Regions from separate parts of the Homo sapiens genome. Here all the other regions are linked to region 1. The links are contacts of gene promoters, found by promoter capture Hi-C in human tissues and cell types (Jung and others, 2019). All regions are on one chromosome and are shown on one strand. Each heading gives the region's core, a stretch centred on a gene start or on the middle of the fragment in contact. The rest is flanking DNA. Distances are from core to core; before and after follow the strand shown.

The links. Contacts are between HindIII fragments. The study calls those that stand out against the background at their distance.
Region 2: a fragment that was not itself captured here is called in contact with the fragment with the promoter of PPIB in region 1 in 5 of the 25 tissues and cell types used here (IMR-90 fibroblasts, bladder, hippocampus and 2 more).
Region 3: a contact is called between a fragment that was not itself captured here and the fragment with the promoter of PPIB in region 1, in 4 of the 25 tissues and cell types used here (IMR-90 fibroblasts, bladder, lymphoblastoid cells and 1 more).

Annotation. Positions count from the first base shown.
Region 1 is chr15:64,160,609-64,165,628 of GRCh38, reverse strand. PPIB (peptidylprolyl isomerase B) reads left to right here and starts at 2,607. Exons shown (of 5, transcript NM_000942.5): 1 at 2,607-2,777; 2 at 3,475-3,588. The coding sequence starts at 2,643. It overlaps CSNK1G1 (casein kinase 1 gamma 1), which reads left to right. Exons shown (of 12, transcript NM_022048.5): 12 at 1-104. RefSeq lists enhancers at 2,093-2,142, 2,249-2,749, 2,693-2,942, 2,750-3,250, 3,484-4,048 and a silencer at 2,283-2,642. The HindIII fragment of the contact is 5,042 bases long and covers 1-3,706 here.
Region 2 is chr15:64,273,626-64,278,645 of GRCh38, reverse strand. The region is part of intron 2 of CSNK1G1 (casein kinase 1 gamma 1); the gene reads left to right. Among named protein-coding and RNA genes, the nearest start is that of CSNK1G1, 80 kb to the left of the region's middle. The HindIII fragment of the contact is 3,728 bases long and covers 738-4,465 here.
Region 3 is chr15:64,244,671-64,249,690 of GRCh38, reverse strand. The region is part of intron 4 of CSNK1G1 (casein kinase 1 gamma 1); the gene reads left to right. Among named protein-coding and RNA genes, the nearest start is that of PPIB, 84 kb to the right of the region's middle. RefSeq lists enhancers at 1,347-1,641, 2,531-2,590, 2,711-3,211, 3,212-3,712. The HindIII fragment of the contact is 4,593 bases long and covers 96-4,688 here.

The DNA.
Region 1 (5,020 bases), core at 1,358-3,857:
TCCTGTGAACAAAAATAATTTGGCATTCTTGTTTCATTCCTTGGATTAAATATTGTCTTCTCCTGTGAGTCACTTCAAAAATAAATACTGCTGTCTCTCTTCGAGTGCTGAAGAAGAAAATTATTTTTTAATTAAAAAAATAAATATTGGCCAGGCGCAGTGGCTCTCACCTGTAATCCCAGCAACTCCGGGAGGCCAAGGCGGGTGGATCATTTGAGGTCAGGAGTTCGAGGCCAGCCTGGCCAACATGGTGAAACCCTGTCACTACTAAAAATACAAAATTAGTTGGGCGTGGTGGTGCACACCTGTAATCCCAGCTACTCAGGAGGCTGAGGCAGGCCAATTGCTTGAATCCAGGAGGTGGAGTTTGCAATGAGCCAAGATCGCACCACTGTACTCCAGCATGGACGTCAGAGCAAGACTCCGTCTCAAATAAATAAATATTCCTGGAAGAATTTGGACATTATCACTCATACGTTAGTTCCTGGGTCCCTGTTGTTCTCAGGTGGTAGAACACAGGAAATCAGGATCTGCTCTGTGGAACAACTTTAGTAGCTTTATAATTCTCCTCTACAAATGCGGAATATGTGTCCAGACAGAAGATAGAACTATGATGAGCAATGTAAAACCATACTGCATATGTAGCCAACAGAACAACTGTCAATCTGGGCATGATTGACTCCTTCCAGTTTGTTACTACTCTTTAATTACTTTTTCACAGGCAGGTAGCAGTGGAAGAATCATGAGAGAAAAGTTTCACATTGAGAGCATTTTATCCATCAACCTGATTTCTTTTGAAAGTGGGAGTGGGAGAAAGGCTGCTGTGATGCCATTTTAGCCTTAGCTCCTCATGTGCAGGAGGCTACTTGGGTTTTTTGAGTGTTTCTTTGTTTTTGAGACAGGGTGGAGTGCAGTTTCACGATCACAGTACACTGCAGCCTTGACCTTCTGGGCTCAGGTGATTCCCCCACCTCAGCCTCTGGGGTAGCTGCGACTACAGATGCGCACCACCACGCCCTGCTAATTTTTGTATTTTTTGTAGAGACAGGTTTCACCATGTTGCCCAGGCTCAAACTCCTGGACTCAAGTCATCTGCCTGCCACAGCCTCTCAAAGTGCTGGGATTACAGGTATGAGCTACTGTGCCCAGCTGGAGGCTACTTTGAAAACATGATTTAGTAAACATTTTTCTCTGGCTATGGCAGCCTGAGACCAGTGAGTGAAGAAAGAGGCTTAACAAAATAGGAGAAAAAAAAAAAAAAGGGATGAGAGATGGATCTGGAAGATCATCTTTGTCAGTATAACAATGTTTAAAACTTCCTCCTGATTGGGGTTGTCTGAATTGAGGTGCAAGGATGGGAAATAAGAGAACTGTCTTGAAGCTCTACAACCTGTGTAAGGCCGCTGTAATGAACAACAAAGTTAATGCCAGTGGCCTTGCATAACTTCAGTCTCAGGTCAGCGCCTCATGAAGACTACATTGCATAATTTATGTAAATGGAGCCCTGCCTATAATCTGTGCTGTGACGACCTGGAATTTCTACGAAGTTAATCGTTGAAAATTAGTTTTAAAGACGTTTTAACGCCATAGGTCCAAATTTTGGAAGTTTGTGTTTTGGTTTGTTTTGGTGTGTAAGACTCCCAGTACCAAAGTATCTATGTTGTAGATTGGGACAACACTAAGTGTGTGAAGACCTAAAATAGCCCTGTGGGGACATCTAGTAACTATTCCTGACCTCCGGAAAAAGGCATTGTATCCTCAGGCCGTGGCATAAATTATTTCTCATGTCAGTGCGGATGTGAAGCTATCCCAACCAGGACTTGTTGGGCACTCAGTACTGCCGCGCTGTGAGGGAGCTGTGGACAGAGTAAATGCAACACAGTCCCTTCCGCAGAAAAAAAAAAAAATGTAGTCTATTGGGGGAAAAGGTAAAGGAAGTTAAGAACAGCGTATACAATAAGATGTCCATTGATATACACAACAGTAAGCACAGCAAGATTACAGAAGGGAGAGAAAAATGGGTAGTAACTTGACGGCCTCAGTAAAAAAGGAAGTGGGTTGTGCAGCAAGTTTTGCAAGACAAGTGGAGGAGCCGTACAAGGCCACGCTCGGTAAGGATAAATGTCCCTGAAGTGTTTGGAAGCCACAACGTTTAGAGCCAATTTGGCGGTGACAAACACTTGACTGGCCCAAAACAGTGACAAGCTTCCCGTGCCCCTTGTCCAGGCCCACGTATTTGCTAACCTCAAGCGCCAGCTACCGCAGGCCAGTGGAACAGCGCTCCGGGCGGGGCGGGCCGCGGAGCATGCCGGGGCTTGTGGTCTTCTCGGAGCCCGGGCCCGTGCTCTGCGAGGCCGCCTTCCGCCGGTGGCCTTCCTGTGGGCGGGAGAGGGCGGCCGGGAGCCCAATGAGGGAGCAATAACGTGGCAACCACCCACGAGCCCGCGTCGGTGCCCGCCCCGCAGGGGGACCTACTATCCGGCGCCGAGCCGGAGGGGGGAAACGGCGCCCGCCGCCCGCCCGGAGCCCGCGAGCAACCCCAGTCCCCCCCACCCGCGCGTGGCGGCGCCGGCTCCCTAGCCACCGCGGCCCCACCCTCTTCCGGCCTCAGCTGTCCGGGCTGCTTTCGCCTCCGCCTGTGGATGCTGCGCCTCTCCGAACGCAACATGAAGGTGCTCCTTGCCGCCGCCCTCATCGCGGGGTCCGTCTTCTTCCTGCTGCTGCCGGGACCTTCTGCGGCCGATGAGAAGAAGAAGGGGCCCAAAGTCACCGTCAAGGTCCGGTGGAGTCCGCGGCATTTACGGTGCCGGAGCTCGGGCCCGGGCGGCCTTGGCTTGGCCTTGGCTCAGCCCCTCCTCCCTCGGCTTCTGTCTGTGGCCTCGTGGCGTCTGGGCCGTCCTGCCCATTCAGTCCAGGGAACGACCCGGACCCACCCCGACACCCCCAGCCCCTGCCCTGACCCAGGGAGTTAGTTGGATCCCCGGATACCCATCTGGGGCCGACACTGGCAGTCTCAGAGCAGGCTTTTTGCAAACACCCCTCAGTGCTGGGGAGATGGTGAAAGATCACGCCTGCCGGATTCCGAATCCTTTCTCTCCTTAAGCCAAATTTTAGCCACTTCCAATTACAAAGCACAGTATGTATACTTCAAACTTAAGTGGTGAACTTAGGCTCCGCTCCTTATGGGTTTTCTAATGTTAATTTTTAGAATCTGGGTCCATTAGCTGTTTAGAGCAAATATTGTTATCCTGTAGTCCAAGGAGGGTATAGATAAGCATGTTTTCCAAGAAAAGGGTCTGGAGCTTTCATTAGATTCTCATAGGATTTTTACCGTCACCAAAATCAGATTCAGAACCACTTCTCTAAAAATATGGCTCTATTCTCTCTCCCATCCTCAGGTTAGCTTCTTGTACCTTCCCTCCCCTAGCAACGCCCCTTTAAAGAAGCTAAGTTGGAAATGGTCTCTTTCCTCAGGTGTATTTTGACCTACGAATTGGAGATGAAGATGTAGGCCGGGTGATCTTTGGTCTCTTCGGAAAGACTGTTCCAAAAACAGTGGATAATTTTGTGGCCTTAGCTACAGGAGAGGTAAGTGGCTGGAGCAGGGGTAGTCAACTCACATGAAGTGAAATTGGCACTGGGGATGGCAGCAAACTGACCTGCAGAGTTCAGCCGATCTGTAGCGTGGACCTCACTGAGCACCGACTGCCTGTTGCCCTGGGAACACAGTATTGCCCTTTCTTAAGAGTAATGGGGCCCTGACCAGGCACAGTGGCTCACACTTAAAATCCCAGCACTTTTGGAGGCCAAAGTAGGAGGATTGCTTGAGCCCAGGAGTTCAAGGCCAACCTGAGCAACATAGCAAGACCCTGTCTCTACCCCCGCAAATTTTTTTTTTTTTTTGAGACGGAGTTTCACTCTTGTCGCCTGGGCTGGAGTGCAGTGGTGCGGCCTCAGCTCACTGCAACCTCCGCCTCCCGGGTTTAAGTGATTCTCCTGCCTCAGCCTCCTGAGTAGCTGGGATTACAGGCATGCGCCACCACGCTTGGCTAATTTTGTATTTTTAGTAGTGACAGGGTTTCACCATGTTGGCCAGGCTGAACTCGAACTCCTGACCTCTGGTGATCCGCCTGCCTTGGCCTCCCAAAGTGCTGGGATTAGAGGTGTGAGCCACTATGCCCGGCCAAAAAAAATTTTTTTTAATTAGCTGGGTGTGACGGGGTGCACCTGTGGTCCCAGCTACAGCTACTCAGGAGGCTGAAGTGAAATGGAGGTTGCAGTGAGCCATGTTCATGCCACTGCACTCCAGCCTGAGCAATAGAGTGAGACCCTGTCTCAAAAAAAAAATAAATTAATTAAAAATAAAAGGCCGGGCGCAGTAACTCATGCCTGTAGTCCCAGCACTTTGGGAGGCTGAGGCGGGTAGATCACCTGAGGTCAGGAGTTCGAGACCAGCCTGGCCAACATGGCGAAATCCTGTCTCTACTAAAAATACAAAAAATTAGCCAGGTGTAGTGGTAGGCGCCTGTAATTCCAGCTACTTGGGAGGCTGAGGCAGGAGAATTTGTTGAACCCAGGAGGTGGAGGTTGCAGTGAGCCGAGATTGCCCCACTGCACTCTAGCCTGGGCAACAAGAGGGAAACTCCATCTCAAAAATAAAAATAAAAAATAAAAAAACAGGCTGGGCATGGTGGCTCACACCTGTAATCCCAGCACTTTGGGAGGCGGAGGAGGGCAGATCATGTGAGTTTAGGAGTTTGAGAGCAGCCTGGGCACCATGGTGAAACCCCATCTCTACTAAAAATACAGAAATCAGCTGGGCATTGTGGTGGCACATGCCTGTAATCCCAGCTACTCAGGAGGCTGAGGCTGGAGAATCGCTTGAACCTGGGAGGTGGAGGCTGCAGTGAGCGGAGATTGTGCCATTGCACTCCAGCCTGGGTGACAAGAGAGAAACTCTGTCTCAAAAAAATAATAATAAAATTTAAAAAATGAGATAAAAAAGAGTAAGGGGTCCAGA
Region 2 (5,020 bases), core at 1,352-3,851, 110 kb before region 1:
ACCAGCTTGGCCAACATGGTGAAACCCTGTCTCTACTAAAAATACAAAAATTAGCCAGGTGTGGTGGCCTGTGCCTGTAGTCCTGACTACTTGGAAGGCTAAGGCAGGCGAATCGCTTGAACCCGGGAGGCGGAGCTTGCAGTGAGCTGAAATTGTGCCACTGCACTCCAGCCTGGGTGACAGAATGAGACTCTGTGTCCAAAAAAAAAAAAATATATATATATATACACACACACACACACACACACACACACACACACACACACACGCACATACATGCATATATACTTTTACCCCTGGACTGGGTGTGGTGACTCACGCCTACAATCCCGGCACTTTGGGAGGCCGAGGCGGGTGGATTACCTGAGGTCAGTAGTTTGAGACAAGCCTGGCCAACATGGCAAAACCCTGTCTCTACTAAAAATACAAAAATTAGCCAAGAGTGGTGGTGGGCACGTGTAATCCCAGCTACTCGGGAGGCCGAGGTGGGAGAATTGCTTGAAACCGGCGGGGCAGAGGTTGCAGTGAGCTGTGATTGCACCACTGCACTCCAGCCTGGGCAACAGAGTGAGACTCCATCTCAAAAAATATATATATTTTAATAGATAATAAAATAATATTAATATATTATTCAAATATATCAATATTAATATATTATTCGAATATATCAATATTAATATATTATTCAACTATATCAATATTAATATATTATTAAATATATCAATATTATTATTAAATATATCAATATCAATATATTAAATATATCAATATTATTATTAAATATATCAATATTATTATTAAATATATCAATATTATTATTAAATATATCAATATTAATATATTAAATATATCAATATTAATATATTATTAAATATATCAATATTGCTATATTATTAAATATATCAATATTAATATATTATTAAATATATCAATATTAATATATTATTAAATATATCAATATTGCTATATTATTAAATATATCAATATTGCTATATTATTAAATATATTAATATTAATATATTAAATATACCAATATTAATATATTATTAAATATATTAATATTAATATATTTATTATATTAAATTTTATTATTTTAATATTAATAACAATATGAAAACTTGTAGCAGGGGTAAAAGTGTGTGTATATGTATTATTTTATGTATGTACATATGAATGAATGAATGACAGGGTCTCACTCTGTTGCCCAGGCTGGAGTGCAGTGGTGCAATCACAGGTCACTGTAACCTTGAACTCCTGGACTCAAAGGATCCTCCCATCTCAGCCTCCCAAGTAGCTAGGGCTGAAGGGTGCACCACAATGCCTGGCTAATTATTTAATTTTTTTGTGGAGGCAGAGTCTCACTTTGTTGCCTAGGCTGATCTCAAACCCCTGGCCTCAAGTGATTCTCTCACCTTGACCTCCCAAAGTTTTTGGATTACAGGTTTGTGCCACAGCACCCAGCCTCCAACTTTATTAATAACATCTATATTTCCTCTCAAAACTTGCATCACTGTCTAGAATAGAGGTCTATATTCTTATTGGCAGGAAAATATATTTGACTATTTTGTCTAATGATCAAGTTCAAGTCACTGACGTTGCATGGTTCTAGTTCTTCCGGAATTGATTGCTTTACCTTGAACTCTGTTCATGATTGTTTTTTCACTTTCAACTATTTTCTTTTTCTTTTTTTTTTTTTTTTGAGATGGAGTCTCGCTCTGTCACCCAGGCTGGAGTGCACTGGTGCGATCTTGGCTCACTGCAAGCTCTGCCTCCCGGGTTCACACCATTCTCCTGCCTCAGCCTCTCAAGTAGCTGGGACTACAGGTGCCCGCCACTACCACCAGCTAATTTTTTTGTATTTTTTATTAGAGACAGGGTTTCACTGTGTTAGCCAGGATGGTCTCGATCTCCTGACCTCGTGATCCACCTGCCTCGGCCTCCCAAAGTGCTGGGATTACAGGCGTGAGCCACCGTGCCCAGCCTCAACTCTTTTATTTTTCAAAGGACTGTTGTACCTTTTTTTTCCTACCTGGGTGGCTGAAATATCTCATTGGTACGTCACTCTTTTTCATTTTCATGGGTTCCCATTTGACCTTTTAATTTTCCACATTCATATTCTAGAGGTCTTCAAATAATAAATGATCCGTCTGTTCTGAAAAAGTACTTCAATTCTGTTTCAGACCCATAATGAAATATTTACTGATAAAATGATGTAACATCTGAGATTTGTTTCAAAATAATAAAGTTACTGAAATTGGGTAGGTTACATGGGGGAAAATCATATGCCTTTGAAGTTATGCATAAAAATTTTAAAAATACAAAAATACTTTGGTATTTCTCTGCTGCAGAAAATCATACTTTCTAGAATGATTCACTCCAGTTTTTCTGCCCACCACTATAATATAGAACATTTTACAAATTTTCTTTGTAAAGCATAGGCCCTTGAAAGTACATAGACACTTTCTGAAAAATGGAGTATGAGTCCTGCTTTGATGCTATTTATAAATGACTTTCAACTTCTCCCTTTCTTTTGGCCCTGGCTGCCTTTTACCTCACTCCACGTAGCCTCACTTTAGACTTTCAGATGTTAGAAGCACTCTCATTTTTCTTACTAACAGATTAATCAGAATATCATGTGTAATACCTTAGGAAAGTTATATAGAAACTAGTCCAGCCACTGACCAGCTTTTCATTGCAAAATGAAATAATTGAAACTGCTTTTTAGAAGATTTTTATTGATGGCTCTTATTATTCTTTGATCATAACTCACACTAAAAAAATTGTGATTTAATATACACATAGTTAATATCTGTGTATATGAAGTTTCATGAAATAATATTTTATCCTTACTGAGTATAATGTACTCTGATACTTTTTATTTTATATATTTTTTCTTTAAAAAATTTGGTCAAGACATTCTTTAAAATCAATATTTGAATGTATTTACTTTATATCCCACTAATGGATCATGTTCTACACTTTAGAAAACATTTGAGCATTGTCTGTCTTGTTAATAATAAACATGCTGTATATACCATCCCAGTGATATTAAGCTTTAATAAGTTTTTCTTTTATTATAATGTACTTATTGTTGTTGATAGGTAAGCCCTTTAAAAAACTTGACACAAGAAAAAATTATTCTTGCCTTAACTACTAATCATTTGGGAAATGTTTCTGCATAGTATACTAATATTTTAATACTATTAAGTTAGTAAAAGTGAAAACATTATCTGCTTTTTTTCTTTAGAGTTGTATTGCTATCGTTATCTTCTTACCCCTAATCATACTGCTCACTTAAAGAGATGCTCTTTGGGCCGGGCAAGATGGCTCATGCCTCCCAGCACTTTGGGAGGCCCAGACGGGAGGCTCACCTGAGGTCAGGAGTTTGAGACCAGCCTGGCAACAAGGTGAAACCCATCTCTACTAAAATACAAAAGTTGGTTGGGTGTGGTGGCATGCACCTGTAATCCCAGTTACTCGGGAGGCAGAGGCAGGAGAATTGCTTGAACCTGGGAGGCAGAGTTTCAGTGAGCCAAGATCATGCCACTGCACTCCAGCCTGGGCAACATAGCAAGACTGTGTCTCCACAAAAAGAAGAGATGCTTTTTGGGTGGAGGTGGCAATAGGCCAACCTGTCCTCTTTGCCCTAAATAGACATGGTAATCATCTGAGTTATATAAAAGTAGTTACTTGTTTTAACTACTAATTGCCTCAAGTTCATTTGGCTGGATTTTTTACAAGTTCTAGGTAGTAATTTATACATGTACTATTTTCACTGAAGGGCAAGAAAATGTGACAGCTGGAGCTCTAACTAAACAGACTGTATGTTCCTTTATCAGTATGGCTCTGAGAACTGAGAACTCCTAGTTCTTTGAAATAATGCAGTGTCTGATGAAGCTTACGGTGAATGTTGTCTCTGTAGGTGACTTACAGAAACAGGAAGTCTTCATGCAGAGGGTTTTATGGACAGCATCACATCCAGGACTGCTGCTTTGAAAGGGCTGAGTTTAAATATAAAGCTCCAAAAACTACTGTGTAATGCAGTTCCTTTTCTATTAAGAATAAAGGAACCAATAGCCAGGAAGTGAGCTTGGGAAGCGTTGTGGATTTTGTGCAACAGATACTAAAAGCTTTCAGTGCTTGGGATTGTGCCAGCTCATCAATGGTACTTTTCTGTCCATTAAATGGCTTTCCTTCCTCATAGTTATTGGTATGCTTTTATTTTTATTTTTTTAGCTGAAGCAGTTATTTATTTTAAATGGGCAGGGTTTTAACATAATCTTTGTAATTAAATTCATCTGGAGCAAAATTTTTGAGTACTGTGTATTATTTAGGATAGTGGCTGAGTGATTGTCTAAATTTCTGAAACATGGCTGCATTTTGTGTTGACCTGTAAAATTTTAATGATGCATTTGTGCCCTTGCAAAGAAATTCATTTGAGGCAATGCTTAGCTCAGGAGACTTATCAAGTCACCTCCAGTGCCTCTTAAGAAAAAGGGTAACATGTATTTGATTCTTTTGGTGCCCTTAGAGAAATTAAGTAAACGCAAGCTAGCATTTTGTGATGTATCAGCCACTATGTTGGGTGTTACATAGGCTTGTCTCACTTATTATACTTCTGTGATTATACTCTTTTATATACATGTGAAAATAGAAGCTAAGAAGCATTTTATAATTTGTCTATCACTTTTAGGTTTAGTGAGAATTTGCAGGAATGCATCATAGTAGCGTGGAATGATATTGTTTACTCTCCTAACTAAGTCTGTTCTCCGCTAATTAAGAGCATCATTTAGACCAAGCTTGTTCAACCTGTGGCCTGTGGGCCACGTGTGGCCCAGGACAGCCTTGAATGCAGCCCAACACAAAATTGCAAACTCTCTTAAAACATTATGTGATTTTTTTTTTTTTTTTTTTTAGCTCATCAGCTTTTGTTAGTGTTCATGTATTTTATGTGTGGCCCAAGACAATTCTTCCAGTGTGGCCCAGAGAAGCCAAAAGGTTGGACACCCCTCATTTAGAC
Region 3 (5,020 bases), core at 1,143-3,642, 84 kb before region 1:
TTGCTTTTCACTTAAGCAGCAAGGAAAAACTGGAATCTCTGAGACTGGTATATCCATCATTGTCATGAGTGGGAATAGGAGGGCTCTGTTGTACTGGTTAGGCCAACTGTTGACTCATAGTCAGGTAGGCTGGCCATCGTTGGTCTGTCTCCCAGTACCTTTTCTAACAAACATGTAAAGGTCACAAAGCCTTCTAGGTCCTATATGCAGTTCAGTGGTGACTACTGGCCTCTTTTCTGCTTCTTGAGATCACCCACTACTTCTAAAATAGCTGCGGTGGGCATCATCTTAATACCCTTGCCTGCAACTAACAAGGTAGCTGCAGACTTTTCCAAGATAGGAAGTGCTTTAGTTTTCTGTTTCAAATCCCCTTGCTACCCCTACCCGCTAGTGTAAGAATTACTTTTAGGATTTTCTTACAGTCATCTAAATCGGCTTGACTACTTAGTTCTAATCATAGAGTTCACCACTCTTCAGGCTAATTTAATGTGGGAAAGTCCAGTGTATTTGAAGTTCTTCATATTAGGCCCAAGTTTGCCATTTATTTATATATTTATTATTTTTAAAATTTAGATGGAGTCTTGCTATGTCACCAGGCTGGAGTGCAGTGGCACTATCTCGGCTCACTGCAACTTCCGCTTCCCGGGTTCACGCCATTCTCCTCCTCAGCCTCCCGAGTAGCTGGGCCTACAGGCGCCCGCCACCATGCCCAGCTAGTTTTTTTTTGTAATTTTAATAGAGACGGGGTTTCACCATGTTAGCCAGGATGGTCTCGATCTCCTGACCTCGTGATCCGCCTGCCTCGGCCTCCCAAAGTGCTGGGATTACAGGCGTGAGCCACCACGCCTGGCCAATTTTTTGTATTTTTTTAGTAGAGACGGGGTTTCACCATGTTGGCCAGGATGGTCTTGATCTCCTGACCTCGTGATCTGCCTGCCTCGCCCTCTCTAAGTGCTGGGATTACAGATGTGAGCCGCCGTGCCTGGCCATATTTTTTATTTTATTTTTTCCAGAGTCCAGATGAGGAAGAACATTGGGATATTTTTAAAATCCTGATTATATTATCCTATTGATGATTAGGCATTGACTATTTTTTTATTGTAATTGCATATTGGTCCCACTCTCCCCACTCCCTGCCATAAGATTATAAGCTCCTTGAAAACAAGCCTTGTGTCTTCTTTACCCTTGTATCTCAAGCGTATCTTAAGGCCTGGTGTGATGTCATTCTGTCACATAGCAGTCAGCAAGTAGTTCAGTGGCAGAAAGAAGTTAGAAAGATTTAATAAGCTTGCCTTTTTAGATTTTTACCAATGTTATTAATAAAAATATTCCTTGTGATGGTTAAAAAAAGGAAATTTATTTTGAAAGAAGATCAATTGACAAGAAAATAGACAAGATTTCACCATGTGTCCTTGTAAATGTGAGCATGAACACCAGAGCTTGTTTTTAACTTAGAGGCACAGCATTCCTCCCCCTATTTTTTCAGAGTAAGTTCTCAGCTGCAAGTATGACTCATTGGTAGTTAATGTTTGAGCAGCCAGTGCGCATATGCCACTCTTTTGATTACCAAGGTGATGTTGCAGCATTGTAAATAAACAACCTTTTGTGCCAAAGCCACACAAAGACCACAGTAACATAATTAGTGTTTTTACTCACTAGTGTTTTGTCTGTCATTGTTCATTACTGTCCAGTGAATTATAAAATATTTGGATTTCCTGACAATGAATACTTAAACAAAAAGCCCATTGTGACTTAGGTTTGTTCAGTGAATTAATCATTGCTTATAAATGTATGAAATTATTTGGGAAAAATGATTGATTATGAATTTAAAGAATACCTATTGCTGTGATATCCAGAGCTTGAGACATTAAATTCCTAAAATAGGAACTTTTTGTTGTCCTGGGACTATGACCATTTTCTTCAGTACCCAACTCTTAATCATTACCTTGGCCTTTTGGACCCCAGTTTCACATTGATGACCTGATCTAGAAATTCATACCAATTCTCTAATTATGTAGAGATAGAACAAAAATGACAGCACTGGGTAATTGTGAATGTGGTTCTGGTTGGAGGTCTTCCACATTGTCTCTGCTTTTCCTTGTGTGATCTCTAACTCTTTCTCTTCCATTCCACTTTGTTTTCTAGTGAGTGGTCACACTTTTCAAGCTTTGTTTCTTGATTACAGTTTTACCACCAAGATTTTCAAGACTTAATGCTTAAGAATTGATATCTCCAAGATAATCAGGGAAGAAAGTAAAGGGGACCATGAGAACCTTGAAACTGAGAATAAGCATTTTATTTTCCTGTTAGCTATCATTTTTTCATTTCTTATAGAAACCAAATTGTAAAATCTTATAACTATTTTTCTTATTTTCTTCAATCATCAATGTTATGTTAATTGTATTATGGTCACCATAGGCAAGTTTTAATTTCTTTTCTTTTTATGGGAATGATTTTAGGTTTCAGTATTTCCTTAGGGTCTTTTACTTAGGAAGATACATACATTATCAATTTAAAAATTTTCCAATCCATAAATCTTTTTTCCAGCATAGCTCTCAGTTTTGCTTGTATTCTAGCACACAGGAACAAGATTTGGTGGATGAGAGGTTTGGGGCAGAGATATGAAAGAGTCTGTGGCCGAAACAGATCCGTATTAGGAAGAGTGACAGTATGAGAATGACTCCATAGCTGACCACATGACAACAGCGTGGTATATGTTCGTTAATTGACTAGAAGATGAATAAGCCAGAACCAAGCATGCAGCTGAAGTGGGAGGAAAAAGGGAGGGAGGGGATGAGTCAGCAAGGACCAGAGCAAATGAAAGAGGATTGAGGGTTTAGAGGGTAGGTAAACGGCAGGATAATAGGATTCTTTGCAGTAAATGACAGGAAAATGGAGGTCTCTGACATAACCTGAAATTTCTAAGTCTAGGCTCCCATATCCTGGCTTCCCAGCAGCTATTGTAATCTAGTGACTCTTCTGATTTGGCTCTCTTATAAAGGAGAAGCTAATCCTCAAATTAAAAAATGACAAGATTCCTCCCCCCCCCCCTTTTTTTTTTTTTTAAAGAGACGGACTCTTGCTCTGATTCTGAGGCTAGAGTGTAGTGGTGCAATCGTAGCTTGCTGCAGCCTCAAATTCTTTGGCTCTAGTCATCCTCCCGCCTCAGCCTCCCAAGTAGCTGGGACTACAGGCGCAATGCACCATAGCTGGCTAATATTTTTAGTTTTTTGTAGGGATGGAGTCTCACTATGTTGACCAGGCTGGTCTTGAACTCTTGGCCCCAGGTGATCCTCTCACCTTGGCTGCCCAAAGTGCTGGGATCACAGGCATGAACCACTGTGTCCAGCCTTAACAAGACCCCAGTTGAAACTTCACAAATGCAGTAGTCAAAACAAAATCTCATTGGGCAGAGAAAGCCAGTTAACTTGTTAAATACCTAGTAGGCGGTTCATTTTTAAAATTGATACATAATATACCTATTTATGGGATATATGTGATATTTTGATACATGCATATCTATGTGTAATTATCAAGTCAGGGTGGTTAAGCTACTCATTACCTCAAACATTTACCATTTCTTTGTGTTGGGAACATTTCAAATCTACTCTTCTGGCTATTTTGAAATATACAATAAATTATTGTTAACTATAGTCACTCTGCTGTGCTATCAACACTAGAATTTATTGCTTCTAACTGTATGTTTGTACCCATTAACCAAGCTCTCTTCATCCTCCCCACACCCAACCATTCCCAGCCTCTGGTAACCATCATTCTATATGAGATCAACTTTTTAAGTTTTCACATGAGCGAGAACATGTGATATTTGTCTTTCCCTGCCTACCTTATTTCAGTTATTATAAAGGCCTCCAGTTCCATCTGTGTTGCTGCAAATGACAGAATTTCATTCTTTTTTTGTGTGTGTGTCTTTTTTTTTTTTCCTTTTTGTGGAGAACCGGGGTCTCGCTATACTGCCCAGTCAGGTCTCAAACTCCTGGGCTCAAACTATCCTCCCACCTCGCCTCTCTGAGAGCTGGGCTTACAGGTGTGAATTTCATTCTTTTTTATGGGTGAATAGTATTTCCTTGTGTGTATATGTACCACATTTTTTTGTCCTTTATCTGTTAATGGACACTTAGGTTAATTGCATATCTTTGCTATTATGAATAGAGCTGTAATAAACATGGACGTACACACATGTTTTTGATAAACTGATTTTGATAATGGCTGTGAAGATCATTTGCCCATTTTTAAATCAGATTATTATTTTTACTATTTTTTGCTATTGAGTTGTTTGAATTGCATATATATCCTGGCTATTAATTAATCCCTTATTAGATACATGGTTTGCATATATTATATTTTCTCTTATTCTACTGGTTGTCTCTTCACTCAGTTGTTTCCTTTGCTGTGCAGGAGCTTCTTAGCTTGCTGAAATTCCATTTGTTTATTTTTGCTTCTGTTGCCTGTGTTTTTGAGGTCTTACCTGAAAGATTTTGCCCAGACCAATGTCATGAAGCATTTCCCCAATGTTTTATTCTAGTAGTTTCATAGTTTCAGGTCTTACATCTAAGTCTTTAATCCATTTTGATTTGTTTTTTTTTGTATAGTTAGAGATAGGGGTCTAGTTTCATTTCTCTAAACAGACCATCCTTTCCCTACTGAATGTTCTTGGCACCTTTGTTGAAAATTAGCTGGTTCCAAATATGTGGGTTTATTTCTGGGTTCTCTCCTCTCTTCCCTTGGTCTCTTTGTCTGTTTATGCCAGTAACATGCTGTTTGGTTACTGTAGCTTTGTAGTATATTTTGACATCAGGTAGTGCGTGATTAGTGGGTGATGCCTCCAGCTGTGTTGTTTTTTTTTCCCCGCCTTGATACAGGGTCTTACTCTGTTACCCAGGCTGTAGTGCAGTGATGTGATCACGGCTCACTACAGCCTCAGCCTCCCTCACCACGCCCTGCTAATTTTTTGTAGAGGTGGGGTTTTGCCATGTTACACAGGCAGGCATCAAACTCCTGG